6 separate regions of the Homo sapiens genome follow, and all the other regions are linked to region 1. The links are contacts of gene promoters, found by promoter capture Hi-C in blood cells and fetal thymus (Javierre and others, 2016). All regions are on one chromosome and are shown on one strand. The core of a region is centred on a gene start or on the middle of the fragment in contact, and the rest is flanking DNA. Distances in the headings are between cores, read along the strand shown.

Evidence for each region. The method cuts DNA at HindIII sites, captures the fragments that hold promoters and counts their contacts. A CHiCAGO score of 5 or more calls a contact.
Region 2: a fragment that was not itself captured here is called in contact with the fragment with the promoter of OR4L1 in region 1 in 1 of 17 cell types (neutrophils); the score reaches 8.9 in neutrophils.
Region 3: a contact is called between a fragment that was not itself captured here and the fragment with the promoter of OR4L1 in region 1, in 5 of 17 cell types (total CD4 T cells, naive CD4 T cells, naive CD8 T cells and 2 more). The highest score is 7.3, in total CD4 T cells.
Region 4: a contact is called between a fragment that was not itself captured here and the fragment with the promoter of OR4L1 in region 1, in 2 of 17 cell types (M2 macrophages and M1 macrophages). The highest score is 8.8, in M2 macrophages.
Region 5: a contact is called between a fragment that was not itself captured here and the fragment with the promoter of OR4L1 in region 1, in 10 of 17 cell types (M2 macrophages, M1 macrophages, naive CD4 T cells and 7 more). The highest score is 11.0, in M2 macrophages.
Region 6: a fragment that was not itself captured here is called in contact with the fragment with the promoter of OR4L1 in region 1 in 3 of 17 cell types (M2 macrophages, M1 macrophages and neutrophils); the score reaches 6.7 in M2 macrophages.

What each region holds. Positions count from the first base shown.
Region 1 is chr14:20,058,706-20,061,405 of GRCh38, reverse strand. It overlaps OR4L1 (olfactory receptor family 4 subfamily L member 1), which reads right to left and starts at 1,361. Exons shown (of 1, transcript NM_001004717.1): 1 at 423-1,361. The coding sequence starts at 1,361. The coding sequence ends at 423. The HindIII fragment of the contact is 2,043 bases long and covers 806-2,700 here.
Region 2 is chr14:19,966,833-19,969,532 of GRCh38, reverse strand. No RefSeq gene overlaps it. Among named protein-coding and RNA genes, the nearest start is that of OR4K15, 7.4 kb to the left of the region's middle. The HindIII fragment of the contact is 6,542 bases long and covers 1-2,700 here.
Region 3 is chr14:19,949,328-19,952,027 of GRCh38, reverse strand. No RefSeq gene overlaps it. Among named protein-coding and RNA genes, the nearest start is that of OR4K1, 20 kb to the right of the region's middle. The HindIII fragment of the contact is 1,119 bases long and covers 758-1,876 here.
Region 4 is chr14:20,155,230-20,157,929 of GRCh38, reverse strand. No RefSeq gene overlaps it. Among named protein-coding and RNA genes, the nearest start is that of OR4N5, 18 kb to the right of the region's middle. The HindIII fragment of the contact is 2,743 bases long and covers 1-2,650 here.
Region 5 is chr14:20,136,593-20,139,292 of GRCh38, reverse strand. OR4N5 (olfactory receptor family 4 subfamily N member 5) reads right to left here and starts at 473. Exons shown (of 3, transcript NM_001004724.2): 1 at 403-473. The HindIII fragment of the contact is 3,856 bases long and covers 1-2,700 here.
Region 6 is chr14:20,173,736-20,176,435 of GRCh38, reverse strand. It overlaps the pseudogene GTF2IP22. Among named protein-coding and RNA genes, the nearest start is that of OR11G2, 16 kb to the left of the region's middle. The HindIII fragment of the contact is 2,490 bases long and covers 144-2,633 here.

The sequences.
Region 1 (2,700 bases), core at 112-2,611:
AGAAACTAGAATTGCTTTTTCTGTTAACATTATTTAATTCATGACTTGTTCATGATACCTCATTTAATAATAGTATAAATTTATGAATAACATTATCAATATATATTAAAATAACCTCTAATAATATTCATATCTTCATGTATTCATTTACAGTTGTTTCTTTATTAATGAATATATTGAATGTATATGATAAAAATCCTCAATAATCTTTTTATGTTTATTTATGTCTATTTTTATGTCTATTTTGCTGCAGATCTCTATCCTTATGTTTATAAAAGTCTTAAATGTAAAATTTAAAGTAATTTAGTATTGTCTTTATGCGTTATTATTATAACATAAGAAAAGTGAAATGATGCATTATACATAATCTATTCAAACTATCTTATCGTAGCATTTAAAAGTTAATTATATAGTGCTAACATCTAGAAATTCTGTGCAGAACTAACATATTGGAACCGTAATTTTCTTATGGCCTCTTGCATTTTCTTATTTCTCAGGGTATAAATACTCGGATTCAGTAAGGGTGTGATAACTGTATAAAATACGGCAAGAGTTTTATTGCTTGCCAAACTACTGAATGGCCAAACATAGATAAAAATACAAGGTCCAAAGAACAGAGTGACCACAATGATGTGGGCAGACAATGTGGACAGCGCCTTGGAGAGCCCATGTGATGATTTTTTTGGTACACTGACCAGGATGACAATGTAAGAAACAAGCAAGAGGATGAAACAGGTGAAAGAGAGCAGCCCGCTGTCAGCAATGACAAATAATTCCAGGGTGTATGTTTCAATGCAAGCAAGCTTGATCACAAGGGGAAGATCACAAAATATGTTGTTTATGACATTGTGGCCACAGAAAGGCAAGTTCATTGTTAAAACTATCTGGCTTATGGAGTGTAAAAAACCAATTATCCATGAAAGTATCGCAAACCCCTTTAGCAGCTTGTGGCTCATGATTGTCCTATAGTGCAGGGGTTTACATATGGCTACATACCTGTCAAAGGCCATGATTATCAGAAGAGTCATCTCAGCACCCCCAAAGAAGTGCATGAAGAACATCTGGGTCACGCAGCCCCACACAGAGATGGTCTTGTGGTCAGTGAGCAAATCTATGATCATCTTGGGTGTTGTGGCAGTGGAGAGACACATGTCCAAAAAAGAGAGATTTCCAAGGAGAAAGTACAAGGGAGAATGAAGGGTTGACCTACATGTCACTGTGACCATAATGAGAATGTTTCCCATCACAGTAGCACCGTAGATCAGGGAAAATGTCACAAAGAAGAAAATTTGAAGTTCCCATCGTCCAAAAAATCCTAGTAAAATAAACTCGGTCACTAGAGATCCATTTTTAAGATCCATTTACTCAACTCAGAAAGGTTCCAGAAGTTCTTTATATACAAAGAGAATTAAAAAATAAGTCACAGTTAACACCAATATTTTCTTATTTCTATTAGTTGGTGATAATAGTTGATGATATGAGATCATATAATTTTAAATATATCAACACAGAGATTAGCTTAAATATTATATCACTTTGAAACAATTACTCTGCAGTAATTACAAATCATTTGAAGAAGTAGAAGTTCCATTTTCTATTGTTTATTCCATAAAATCATACTCTTATCAATGGATCTTGACTTTCTTACTCATTTGTTCACATATAAAGATTAGATACTAATTAATTACTTTTTATTTTGCCTTTTATTATTATAGTATTCTGTACCTGCACTTCTTGAGATTATGTTATCCCAATATATAAGGAATACAAGATTTAGAAAATGAAGAATTACATTGTTCTACATCTCTGAAGTAATTTATGAAGGTTTTTCTATGGTTCTAAACTAAATAAGCAAACAAACAAACAAAAAGCACACACACACACACACACAAATCAGGAGCAAATTATACATGGATGAAAGTATATAAATTTATTTAAAATAATTTTTCTTTTTAATATACATGTATACCTCTTTTATTGTGTTTCACTTTATTGTCCTTTGCAGTTATTTAATGTTTTATAAACTGAGGGTTTGTGACAACCCTGGATCCAGCAAGTCTATTGGCACCATTTTTCCAACAGCATGTGCTCACTTTATGTCTCTGTGTCACATTTTGGTAATTCCCAAAATATTTATTTCAAACTTTATTATTATTATTACACGTTATTTGATCTGTGACCAGTAATCTTTTATGTTACTATTTTCATTATTTTTGGGCACCACAAGCCGTGCCCATGTAGAATGGCAGACAATTGATAAATGTTGTTTCTAACGGCTCCACCAACCTACTCTTCCCTCATCTCTCTCCTTCTCTTCAGGCCTCTCTATTCTTTGAGATACAACAATATTGGATTTAGGCCAATTAATAGCTTTGCAATAGCCTCTAAGTGTTCAAGTAAAAGGAAAAGTTGCATGTCTTTTATTTGAAATAAACTAAGAAAAAACTGGAGACAGTTAAACGTTCAGTGGTTTCCAGGGGTTTGAATGAAGAAGGAGAAATGAAGAAATAAGAGAAGTACGGAGAATTTGCAGGGTATTGAAACAATTCTTATCTACTATACTTAGAAATACATAACACATTTGTCAAAACCCATAGCATGTATAACATCAAGAGTAAATCCTAATGTAAACTACAAATTTGGGGAGATAATAATGTGCAATGTAGGCTCACCAGCGGTAACGAATGTACCACTCTGGTT
Region 2 (2,700 bases), core at 187-2,686, 92 kb after region 1:
TCTATTTTAAACTCTGAGATTAGGTGCAAAAAGATTAGGATTGGTATGTATTCATGATTGATTAAGCCCGTTATCATATGACATGCTTCTCTTTACTTTTGATTATATTTTTTCTTCTGAAATCTACAGAGTCAGATATTGATATGACTGCTTTAGCTCCTTTATAATTACTATTTGCATTGTATTGTATATCTTTGTTCATCTTTTTATGTTTAAGTAGTCTGTGTCTTTATATTTAAAGTGGATTCAAGGTAGGCAGCAAATAGTTGGCTGTTGCTTGTATTGTTCATTCTAGCAATGTCTGCCTTTTAGTAGACTTCTTATACTATTTACATATAATGTAAATGATATGTTGGGTTTATGTCTACTACCTTGCTACTTTTTTTTAATTTGGGACTTCCTTTACTTTCCATTTTTGTAGTAGAATTATATCAACCATGATATGTCTTGCTTTTGTTTGACTTACAAAGTCTTCATTTCACTTTCATTTTGAAGGATATTTTTCATACTTAAATGATTGTGTGGACTCTGTTGTTTTCATTCTGTTTTTTTTTTAACAATTCTAATCCTGTTTTATAATAAGTACTCAGTTATCCAAATCCTGGTTTTTCAGTATATGGTTGTTCTTTTATCCATGGCTACCGTAAGATATTTTCTGTATGACAAGTTTCCCATATGAATTGTGATATGTCTTCTTGTGATTTTCTTTTGATTTATCTCGCTTGAGGTTGGTAGAACTTCTTGACTTTTTTTATTATAACTTTCAATCAAATTCAGAACATTTTGTTCCCCATTTTATCCTTTCCTCTGGAACTCCAGTTACATACGTGTTAGGCCAGTTGGCATTCTCTTGCATATTGCTGTGACACTGTTCAGTTTTTCCTTTCACATTTTTGTCTCTGTACTTTGGTTTAGAGATTTTCTATTGCTGTGTCTTCTAGTTTACTGATAATTTCCTTTGTGGTGTCTAACATTTTTCACCTCATGAAATCTTGATGTTGTTAATATATTCCATTCCTCTCTTCATTCTGTTTATATTTTTTATTTATATACTTGAGCATACTTATGACAGCTCTCTTAAAGTTATTTTATTCTAATTTCCACATCTTGGTAATTTCTGAGCTTATTTGAATCAGTTTCCAATTCTACTCATTATGATGTATATTTTTATGCTTTATTACATTTATTAATGGACACTAAAAATATTTCTGAGTGCTGGATTCTTTCTTTTCCTATTCAAAAGTAGTAGTCTTCGTTCAGTCGCAAAGTTACTTGTGGGCTAGGCTAATTATGTCATTTTATTTTTAAATATTTTAGGATGGGTTTAGAGTAGGCTTCTCTAAGCTACTTTAGCCTTAGTATTAAGGAATTATCTGATATTTAAGGCATTGCCCAGGATCGACTAAGTTCTTGGGTTTATTTCATTTTATTTATTTATTGAGATGGAGTTTTCACTCTTGTTGCCCAGGCTGGAGTGCAATGGCGTGATCTCGGCTCACTGCAATCTTCGCCTCCCAGGTTCAACCCATTCTCCTGCTTCAGCCTCCCACGTAGCTGGGATTACAGGCAACTGCCACCAAGCCTGGCTAATTTTGTATTTTTAGTAGAGACGGGGTTTCTTTATGTTGGTCAGGCTGGTCTCAAACTCCCGATCTCAGGTGATCCACCCGCCTCGGCCTCCCAAAGTGCTAGGATTATAGGCATGAGCCACCGCGCTTTAGCCTTTGTGTACTCAGCTTACTATTCAGTAACAACTCAAGTGGGCCCCATAGAAACTTCTGGAGAGTTTTTTTCTATGTAATTTTTCTGTTGTTGTTGTTGTTGTCCTGGATGTAGATTTTGGCCATCGCCAACTCTCTGAACTCCATTTTCTGGATTCTAAGTGCCAACTCTCTGAACTCCGTTTTCTGGATTCTAACTCATGAAGTCAACTGTGCTCTGCTTTGAATTACCTTTGCTGCCCTGAGATGTGGAAAGTACCTCCATGGAGGAAAATGTGTTGATCATAATATTAATCTTATGTTTTATTCTCTCAAGGATCTTAGTCTTGTGTTGCATGTAGACTAATGCTTAAACACAATGTAGTGATATATTTTATCCAGTTTTCCTATTGATTATGAAGCGAAATTAAATCCAGTAGTACCTCATGGCTGGAAGTGGAAGTTCATACTGTTTTTTTAAATAAAAAATTCATGAATACTGTTTACTTCTCTTTTAAAATGATTTATAATTCATTTACCTGAAATTTATCCTTTTAAAGTGTACAATTCAGTAAATTTTATCATGTTAACAAGGTTATGCAGCTATCACCACTGTCTATCTCTGAAACATTTTCCACAACCCCAAAAGAAACCCCATAACCATTAGCATTTACTTCCCATTCTCCCTAAATGCAGCCCTTGGATACCATTAAACTATTTTCTGACTCTTTGGAATTGTCTATTCGGGACATTTCTAATAAGTGATATGACATAATAATAATGTGTCTGGCTTCCTTAACTTGGCATATTGTTTTTAAGTTTCATCCATGTTATGACATGTATCAATACTGTATTCCCTCTTATAGCTATGTAATATTCCATTGTAAGGATATAGAAATTTTGTTTATTCATTCATCAGTTGATGGGAATTTGGGTTGTTTCCAGTTTTGATTGTCAATAGTACTGCTGCTGTGAACACTTGTGTACAAGTTTTTGGATA
Region 3 (2,700 bases), core at 68-2,567, 110 kb after region 1:
TTTGGTAATGAAGATAATCATTTATGGGAAGAAACCGGCTTCTTACTATGTAGATAATTAAGTTGAATAAAGGCTTTTGGGTATGACGAGATTGATTTAGTTATCTTACAGTGATATGTGACCAATAATTACCTTATTATCCTTACAATGCTATAAAGTAAATATTACTATAATCCTAACTTTGTGTTAGAAGCAGCTACAATTTAGTGCTAAAGTTAGTGTCACAAGGCACACTGGTAGTCTGAAGATTTGAATGTGCAAAGAACATATGTTTAACTGCTACATATTGCTCAATTAAGGATCTGATTACTGAAAACATCTATCTAAGGATGTCTACCTGGTCACTAAAATAATTTATCAGTATTATTATTATTTTAAGAGACAGGGTCTTGCGCTGTCACTCAGGCTGTAGTGCAACTATGTGATCATGGCTCACGGCAGCCTGGACCTCCTGGCCTCAAGTGATCCTCCCACCTCTAAGATAACAAAGTAGTGCCCAATTATATTCTCTGCTCTTTCTGAACTATACATCAACATGCTCACTTTTATCTTGCTACTTCAATCCCATGCTTGTGTTAGCAGTGACAATAATCAGTCAAAACAGCAATAATTCGCTGTTTTGTTTTATATTAGGCTCTCACGCCCAAACCCCAAGTCCTCATGCTCAAAAACACAGGTTGCCTTGACTGTGGTAATAACTTTAGCCCAGAATCCCTTTATCTCTCTGAATGGCAACATGTACAGTTGCTTTTAAGCTTGATGCGATTAAATTCCACATACCAATTTTGAGATAAATCTCAGGAAAGTAACAACAGGGTGAAGAGAAGATGCTTCCAAAACTTTTTAAAAAATAATTTTAAAAAGAGAATCACAGGAGCCTATAAAGGAACTATTTAAATATCATGACACTCCCAAAAGTCTCAGATAACCAATCCCATGAATTGCGAAAGCCAATTAAAAAATGAACTTTGTTAAGTGAATTCATCTTGCTATGGGAGTTATTAACAATATTTTGGTTGCTTCTCCCCCATATCAAGATGGTAAGAACTTTTAAATTGTTTGCCTATAATTGCAAATGAGAACATATGTCATGAGAGAGAAATGTAGTGACCTCAAAGTTTGCAACAACTATATTTGCCCTCATTTAATGTTCTGCCTCTATCCATGTGCTTTCTTTGTCCTTATCTAAAGTGACTGTGCCAGTAAGCACTAGCACACATGCACAGGGCCTAAAGAAAATTAGATCCAAAGAAATATAAATCTGGCAATGGGTCTAAGAAAATTAGAATTTTGCTTTCTCTAATCTTATATTTCTTCCTTTTCTTGAAAATTTTTATGTCAAAGGTTTTCAAATTCCATACCACACAATATTTTGCCAAAATTATCCAATATTTTAATTATCACTACACAGTACTTGACCATATAACAGAATCAGAAAAGAATCTTAGACATAAGTGGGTAAAACTGCCCAGATATAAAAATAGCTTGCTTTTGGATATTGTGGAAACATATCCCATTAGAGCTGTAGAAGGACTTAGGAAATCTACAGAGAAGAGCAGGGGACAAAGACAAAAGTAAATGTTGTGACACAGAGTGAGTGCCCAGGAAGTTTGATGAGCTTAATTGAGGAGAGGAGCCCAGTCATCAGCCCAGACTGATAGATCACGTTTCTTCTTCACATCTTCTCTTTAATTTTCACAGTCATTTCAATTCTTCTGTTTCCAAATCTAGTCCTCCTTTAGTCTCCCTTAACCCAGGTAATGGCATTTCTATTGCCCCAGTGGTTTCAGCCAGAAACTTCACTTCTTCTATTTTCTCACTCCCACTTCCAGTCCTGCTGTACCTTTCTCTAAAATATGCCCAATCCATCAAAGCTTTCTATTACAATTTCCCTTGTCTAAACCATCCCTTTCTTTCTCCTTAAATGTTTCAAAGGCCTTCTAATAATCTCCAACTCTCTGCACTGATTTTTTTTTCCAGTCAATTTCTCCTGAATGCTCAGAGCAGTCTTTAAAAATAAGATAAATCTTTAAAAATAAGATAAATAAGTCAAACAACTTTAAAATGATAAACATGCAGTCATTCCTCTGTATATGTGGGTTCTGTGTCTATGGATTCAATCAATCACGGATCAAAAGTATTTAGAAAAAAACAATTCCACAGATCTTCAAAATCAAAACTGAAATTTGCAACACATCAAGTACTACATTGAATTCACTTAAAAGAAGTGATATGTAGACATCGTATTAGATATTATAAGTAATTTAGAGATGATTTAAAAGTATACGGGAGAATGTGCATAGGTTATATGCAAATGCTACACCACTTTATACAAGGGACTGAAGCATCCATGGGTTTTGGTATCTGCGGGGGTCTTGGAACCAATTCCCCGTAGACACCAAGGGACCATCATAGTCCCCATTGCTCTAGAAATATAATCCAATATCCATAATGAGCCCTTCCTATCCTGTATTTTACATATTAACCTTCAGCTTCATTTCGTCTCACTCATTGGTCATTCACTAAATTCCTGCTTTCATTTTCTGGAACACACAATCCCTTTCCACTTTAGGGAGTTTCCATTTCTCTTTTGTCTGCTTGAATATTGTTTCTTTTGGCTCTTCTATTGTATATCCTTCCCACAGAAACTAAATAGAAGGTTATTCATTACACAGAGCACAGAGAGGCTTTTTCTGAGTA
Region 4 (2,700 bases), core at 30-2,529, 97 kb before region 1:
TAAAACTGGTCTGGATAAGTGATGCAGTAAAGTTTGCAGTGAAAGAGACTGCTGTAGTTTCCCTCCTGAACTTCCAGAGCTTTCTGGCAGAGATGACTGTTCTCTAATGTGACTGTCATTACCCATGGCTTGCTGTGGCAGAAACCCACATTTCTAGAAATGCTTTTACAAGGCCCATAAGTTGCAAAGGCAGCTGTGTTTAAGTAGCAGGAATCAATATTTTGAGACACTGACTAGCCCCATCACATTCTAACCTTGACTGCATATTCTAGAGGAAGCAAGAAATACACTGTGAGTACAAGTGACATTTCTCGTGACATCTAAATATCTTGCTTTCTGCTTTTAGCTCCCATGTCGCATCTCACTTGTCTTTATAAAATTGTATACTTTGAGTAAACTTGGTTTTGTAATTCATACATTAGCTATAGTCTTCAACAGACCTACATTCATATTCATGGAAATAACACTGATCTAGTGATAATTGGAGTCCACAGTCTAGAAATGTCACTCTAGTTAGTTAATATGAACCAAGAGATGTCATATGGATAGTCATGATCTTTATCCTTCTCTGAATTCTATGAACTTAAGGCAAACATGTGCACACAAAGTGGGGAACAGCAGACACTGGGGCCTACCAGAGGGTAGTAGTAGGGTGGGAGTAGGGAGAGGAGCAGGAAAAAATAACTATTGGATACTAGGCTTAGTACCTGGGTCACAACATTGTCTGTACAACAAATCCCCAAGTTTACCTGTATCACGAACCTGTGCATGTACCCCTGAACCTAAAATAAATTTTTTTTTTAAAAAAGGATCAGCATGATATTTGAAAAGAATGTTGAAATGAAGATGGCAGACTGATACTGGAACCAGCTTTATCTCCAATAGCTGCCTTATCTTTTCCTCTGGGTTCAGTTTCTTCATTGGTAAAATAAGGTGGTTGAGCTCCAACTCTCAGTGGTTTCTCAGGCCCAGTACTTAATGAATCTATTATTAATATATCTATCATCATTGTTTATGGATCCATTATTCTAGCCCCATTTCAGGGTTTTGTTATTTATTAGCTAATTTGATTTTAACTTTTATCAACTCAAATATAAATATGAGATACAGTGTATTTGACAAATTGCTGTCTAAAACTTTCTCTCTGAAGAATAGTTCACCTCTTTTTAAGTAGTGTTTTCTTTCTTATTACATATTATTTACTCTAGGTGCCTGCCACACTGTTTGCTCTCAAATGCTCATGTCACTTGGTCACCTTTTTGTACCTGCTCTCCTCTGAAAGTATCTTAGGCTCTAAAATGTTTTCAGTTGTCTGTCTTTCAAAAACTTTGTATAAGCATTCCTTTTTCTCCACAACCTTGCCAGCATCTGTTATTTTTTTACTTTTTAATAATAGCCATCTGACTGGTGAGAGATGGTATCTCATTGTGGTTTTGATTTGCATTTCTCTAATGATCAGTGAAGTTGAGTTTTTTTTTTCATATATTTGTTGGCCACATGTATGTCTTCTTTTGAAAAGTGTCTGTTCATGTCATTTGCCCAATTTTTAATGGGGTTATTTTTTTCTTGTAAGTTTGTTTATATTTCTTATAGATGTGGATATTAGACCTTTGTCAGATATAGTTTGTAAAAGTTTTCTCCAATTCTGTGGGTTGGCTGTTTACTCTCTTGATAGTTTCTTTTGCTGTGCAGAAGCTCTTTAGTTTTATTAGATCCCATTTGTCAATTTTTGCTTTTGGTGTCTTTGTCATGAAATATTTGTTCCCATGTCCTGAATGGTATTGCCTGGTTGTCTTACAGAGTTTTTATAGTTTTTGGTTTTACATTTGAGTCTTTAATACATCTTGAGTTAATTTTTGTATATGGTGTAAGGAAGAGGTCCAGTTTCAATCTTCTGCATATGGCTAGCAAGTTATCCCAGCACCATTTATTGATTAGGAATCCTTTCCCCATTACTTTTGTCAACTTCATCAAAGATGAGATTATTGTAGGTATGCAGCCATATTTCTGGGCTCTCTATTCTGTTCCATTGGTCTATGCATCCTTTTTTGTACCAGTGAAGTGTAAATTAGTGCAACCTTTATGGAAAACTGTGGCAATTCCTCAGAGACGTAAGAATAGAGCTACCATTTAACCCAGCAATCCCATTACTGGGTATACACCCAAAGGAATATAAATTGTTCCACCATAAAGGCACATGCACGCGTATGTTCATTGAAGCACTATTCACAATAGCAAAGACATAGATTCAACCTAAATGCCATCAATGGGAGACTGGATAAAGAAAATGTGGTACATATACTCCATGAAATACAATGCAGCCATAAAATAAAGAATGAGATCATATACTTTGCAGCAACCTGAATGGAGCTGGAGGCCATTATCCTAAGCAAACTAACACAGGAATAGAAAACCAATACTTATGAGTGGAAATATAAATACTCCTTTGCAGAAATATGGATGGAGCTGGAGGCTATTATCCTTAGCAAACTAATGCAGGAACAGAAAACTACATACCATATGTTCTCACTTGTAAGTGGCAGCTAAATGACACAGACATAGAGGGGAACAACAGACAATGGGGCTTATCAAAGGATGGAGGATGGGACGAGGGAGAGGATCATGAAAAATAAGTAATGGATTCTAAGCTTAATACCTGGATGATGAAATAATCAATATAACAAACCTCCATGACACAAG
Region 5 (2,700 bases), core at 149-2,648, 78 kb before region 1:
CCTTTTTGACTGATTGTGATTCCTTCACTCTTCCTCCCTTTACCTTTGGTTTAGGATAAAGATGAAATCAGTCATTTGTATTATATACAAATTGAAATCCAGGTGGTGAATCTTCATAATCAATTGGTATTTTTATTTTTAAAACAATAGTAGAATTAAAAATTTTAGCACCTTTAAAATAGTACTAAGTATTAGATAATAGGAGGTTTATTTGAGAAACAGGTATATTTGAGAAAAGTGCTGAACACCTGAATTTACAACTCACCCTTACTCTGTTTCTGCAGCAGAATTCTGTTCTCATAAATTTCAAGGCAGCAGATAACCAAGACAAATAGTATAATTTTTCTTTTTTTTTCTTTTTCTCTATTTAATTTAAATATAAAGAATGATAAAAAATTTTACCTTGCCGGGAGCCAAATGCTACTCTCAAACAAGTGGCTATTCTTTTCTGTCTGATAAAAGGGAGATTAGCTAATTATTTCAGAATTTGTGCTTAAATATATATTCTCATGTTGGAATATTATAAATTCTGAAATCTCTATTCATTTGTAATACAATTAATGCAATAGAGAATGTACTTTGGGGTTTTACCGCTACCTGAATTCTGCAGAGTTCTACCAATGGGAATTATTAGACTGCCAATTAGAATTAGACAAAGAAAGAGACAAGAACATTTTAAAGATTAAATATTCAAAACACATGCCAGTGAATACCCCATTGAATCATGTTAGGGTTTTGAATTTGGTATTTTATCAGTGGCAGTGATAATGGAATGTCCCATACACTTATTAGGCAAAATGATTAATGATTAATTCAATGTTAATAATGCTTCATTTAACTCAGTATATCTAAATTATTATCATTTCAAAGTTTGTCTTTAAATAAAAAGAACTTTATGCATCTTGTAGACCAGTTCCTCCAGGGGAGTGCCCCTCAAGTAAAAGAAGAAATACTCTATTGTATTATTGGTTTTTTTGAATATATGGTTCCTAAGCCCTGCTATAGGATAATGAGCTTTCTGGTTTTTAATGAAATAATATAACATAAAAATATCTAATCATACAAGAAAAAAATCAATGTAAGTTTTTTTTGTAACACATTATAAAGAAAGATGCCATTCCTCAGAGTCACATTAAAATTAAAATACCAAACTTAAATTTAATAAAGCAAATTCAATACACAGTCAAGTATGCTTTCATTCATGTTTATGCCCAGCTCAGCCAGAGATGCAGTCAGAGATGTTTAAAAGTGGACAGAGATGAAGAGAGGTAGATAACATTTTAGCAGGTTTCTTTCCTATTATGATCAGTGCTGCAACTTCTAACATATACCATTTTCCTTGGGTGAAAGCATAGCAGTATAATACAGTCCCAGAAAGATACAAAGTTAGAAATACAAGATAATTGCAAGAGAGAGAACAGAGGCAAAAAAGAGAAAAAGCATACACAAAAAAATAGGAGAAAAGATGGATAGAAAGAGAAACAATGCCCACAGAGATGCTTGTACCACAAAGCCGTAAACACAGGTTTAGAAAAAAAAAAAGACAGGATAAGAGAAGGGAATGGATGGAGAGAGAAAGATAGAGTGGTAAAGATATTTCTGAGAATGCAAATTATTTTGTTTTGTTTTTGTTTTTTATTTTTCACTTTAGTTTTGTTTTATGCAATTAAGGGACTTCCCAGGGATGTCACTTCTCAATATTGACAACAATGCTTTAGAATTAGTTAGAAGAAGATATTTTAACTGAGATATTAACTAGTGCAAAATAGACCTTTCCCCTCTGCTGAGAATGCTTTTTCATCTTAGGCAATTTTATACTATTAAAAAGAAAGATGTATGTTTGTGTGAATGTCTGTGTGTTTTAAAAGATGTATCTCAGAGTGGCCTGAACTAGCTTTCTAAACAAGGCATCCAAATGTGGTGAAACTAGCACAAGACTGGAGCTCAAAAGACAAGTTTGCAGTCCTGGTTCCAACCATGATGGTTCTGTTTTTTGAGAAAATGTCAAAAACTTCCTCCGATGTTTTGTCATCTAAAAAACTGAAAATATATTTCCTTACTTTACAAAAGGTTTTAGGTGTTTATCATTTGGAAAACTTATTACATAGGTAAGTGATTAGGCACTGGTTATTATATACAAGGTCCTCGGTCTCAGGGATTTGACATTCCAGTGGAGGGAGCCAGACAAAGAACAACAACAACAACAAAAAAGACAGTAAAATGTGGGAGAATGAAAGAATATAACAGAGGGATGTGTTGGAGGGTGAATGAGGGCGGGGGGTGGTGCTGTTATTTTAGATTGAGTAGTTAGAAAAGTTATCCCTGAGGAGCTGAAAGTTAAGCTGAGGTTTGAATGACTAGGGTAGGGCATTTCAGGCAATGTGAAGAACGAGAATGGAGACTGTGGAAGAGGATTGAGCTGGTACAGTAAGGCACAGAAAGGAGACCATCATGATGAGGAAATGGTGAGCATAAGAAGGAAAAGTATAAGGCAACATTAGAGAGGTAGGCAGATGTTATCCAGCTCATGGCATTTGGAGGTTATTCTCAGTGTGTAATTATAATGTCAACAATTGTAATCTTCAGGTCGTTCTGGCTATTGTGTGGAGAATGGGTTTGAGGGAGGCAAGTATAGGAGCAAGGAGAACAGTTTGAAGATGTTGCAGTACCAAGTACAAAAGATGATGTTGGTAACTTTGC
Region 6 (2,700 bases), core at 139-2,638, 120 kb before region 1:
ATTCTTCGAACTGGCTCACTCAACAGCATCTTCCTGAGCATCAAATTTCAAATAGAATTTTGTCACTGGCTTGAAGTCAATTTGAGAAGTTACTTCACCAGAGGTGATTAGGCATTAGCACAGTGCTTTGTACTTAGAAAGCTTTCAATAAATACCCATAAAATGAATGAATAAATACACTTTCTTATTTCCCAGAAAGGGATCACATCCACACAATAATTTTGGGCAAGGCTGACTCAGATTGTGTGTCTGTGGAACAAAGGACCCTTGGATCTATTTGAAATCACTTTTCTCTTTTGAGATAGTGAACTAACTCATTAATTCATGCTATTTGGTAATGCAATTTACCAATTTCAGGAGTAAAATGTTCAAATTAATAGTAGGTAGCTGCTTCTCACTTCTGTTAAAAGAGTTCCCCAGCCATCAAGGGTAGATGGAGCTGAGGAATAGAATCAGGTTTAATTTTGTCTTGTTGAAACAGGTCTTTGATTTTCTGGATTGGGAATATGAGTCTGCAAAATCCATTGGTTACCATTCTAGTTACATAAACAGTGGAACCTGATATTAGCGATCCAATGTTAAGATAGGTTTAGCAGGAAACTTGAAGAGAAGAAAAAAACTTTACATTTTTTTGCGTCCTTTCCCAATCACTGTTTGGAAACACCTCAAGGCAGAATGACTTTGGGTGGCTATACTTTTGCAGAATGGCTTTATGTTCTTTTGAGCTAACAGTCTTAACCAGACTGTATTGTTACTTACCTTTTATTACTCATCTCTTCTGTGCAGAAGAAACTATGATGTTTACCTGCCAGAAATCCCGGCTGGATTGAAAAAAAAAAGAAAAAGAAAAGAAAGTAAAAAAACAAAACAAAAGAAAAAGAAAAAATCTAGCTGATTCACCCTGCATTGGCTGTAGAGGGCAATGTGAACACGGGCACAACACTGTGTTTTTGTACCCAGGCTGCTTGGACCAAGTTAATTAACAACAAAAACTACTTAAAAAAATCTGTTTACTCATTAAATTAGTCAACCCCAGAAAGTGGGGTGAAGATAGACTATGACTGAATGAGCCAAGCTGTGTCACATGCAGTGTGATAAGAAGGCATTTCCCTGATACTTTAATGTTCCCCCAAAGTTCAGTACAGTAGAAGTCTGGACACCCAACTTGGTTGACCCCCCTCCTCAGCCAGCCCAGAGATGTCTCATGACAACACGCTTGCCTCCTCTTTTTTGTTTGCGCAGGTTCAGTGAGGGGGCTGCCACGTCTGTAATGTTGGGCAATCTGTTTCTAGAAAGTACTTTAAAAAGTAAGGATAAGATAATTTTCCAGATTGGGACAAGTGGTAGGCAGCTATACAAGATAGAAAAAGTCCTGGATTTAGAGTCAAGAGTTTTCTTTACTAGTCATAGGAAATTAATACTTTCTTAGTTTCCTTAACTATAAAATGGTCATAATTATGCCTTAAGGGCCGTTGCAAAGATTACTGTATGAAATGGAGTACCTTGACCAGTGCCTGATCAGTAAGAGCTTAAGAAATACTGGTTGTGAATAGTGCCGCAATAAACATACGTGTGCGTGTGTCTTTATAGCAGCATGATTTATAATCCTTTGGGTATATACTCAATAATGGGATGGCTGGGTCAAATGGTATTTCTAGTTCTAGATCCCTGAGGAATCACCACACTGACTTCCACAATGGTTGAACTAGTTTACAGTCCCACCAACAGTGTAAAAGTGTTCCTCTTTCTCCACATCCTCTCCAGCACCTGTTGTTTCCTGACTTTTTAATGATCGCCATTCTAACTGGTGTGAGATGGTATCTCACTGTGGTTTTGATTTGCATTTCTCTGATGGCCAGTGATGATGAGCATTTTTTCATGTGTCTTTTGGCTGCATAAATGTTTACTGTGGCACTATTCACAATAGCAAAGACTTGGAACCAACCCAAATGTCCAATAATGATAGACTGGATTAAGAAAATGTGGCACATATACACCATGGAATACTATGCAGCCATAAAAAATGATGAGTCCATGTCCTTTGTAGAGACATGGATGTAGCTGGAAACCATCATTCTCAGCAAACTATTGCAAGGACAAAAAACCAAACACCACATGTTCTCACTCATAGGTGGGAATTGAACAATGAGAACACATGAACACAGGAAGGGGAACATCACACTCTGGGGACTGTTGTGGGGTGGGGGGAAGGGGGAGGGATAGCATTAGGAGATATACCTAATGCTAAATGATGAGTTAATGGGTGCAGCACACCAACATGGCACATGTATACTTATGTAACAAACCTGCACGTTGTGCACATGTACCCTAAAACTTAAAGTATAATTAAAAAAAAGACAATAATGCAAGAAATCAGACATTTTTCTCTCCTTTTGTGTAGTTTTTAAAGTCATATATTTAATATACTTTTCATTGTGGCCCTTTGGATTGGTGTCAGGTTTAGAACTTCTTACATGTGAATAGGGTGCTGTAGTATTAAGTCATTTTAAAATCACATATTACAAAAGACCATGTATGCCTTTATTAAGCCACAATAAGGTAGTGATGATTTTGCTTTTTAATCTTACAATTTAATGACATTTATCTGCTTTTCACCTCCCCCAGGGAAAGCTTTACAAAAACCCACAGAGGTACCTGTACCATATGAGAAGATGCTACAAGACCAGTCAGCTTTGATAG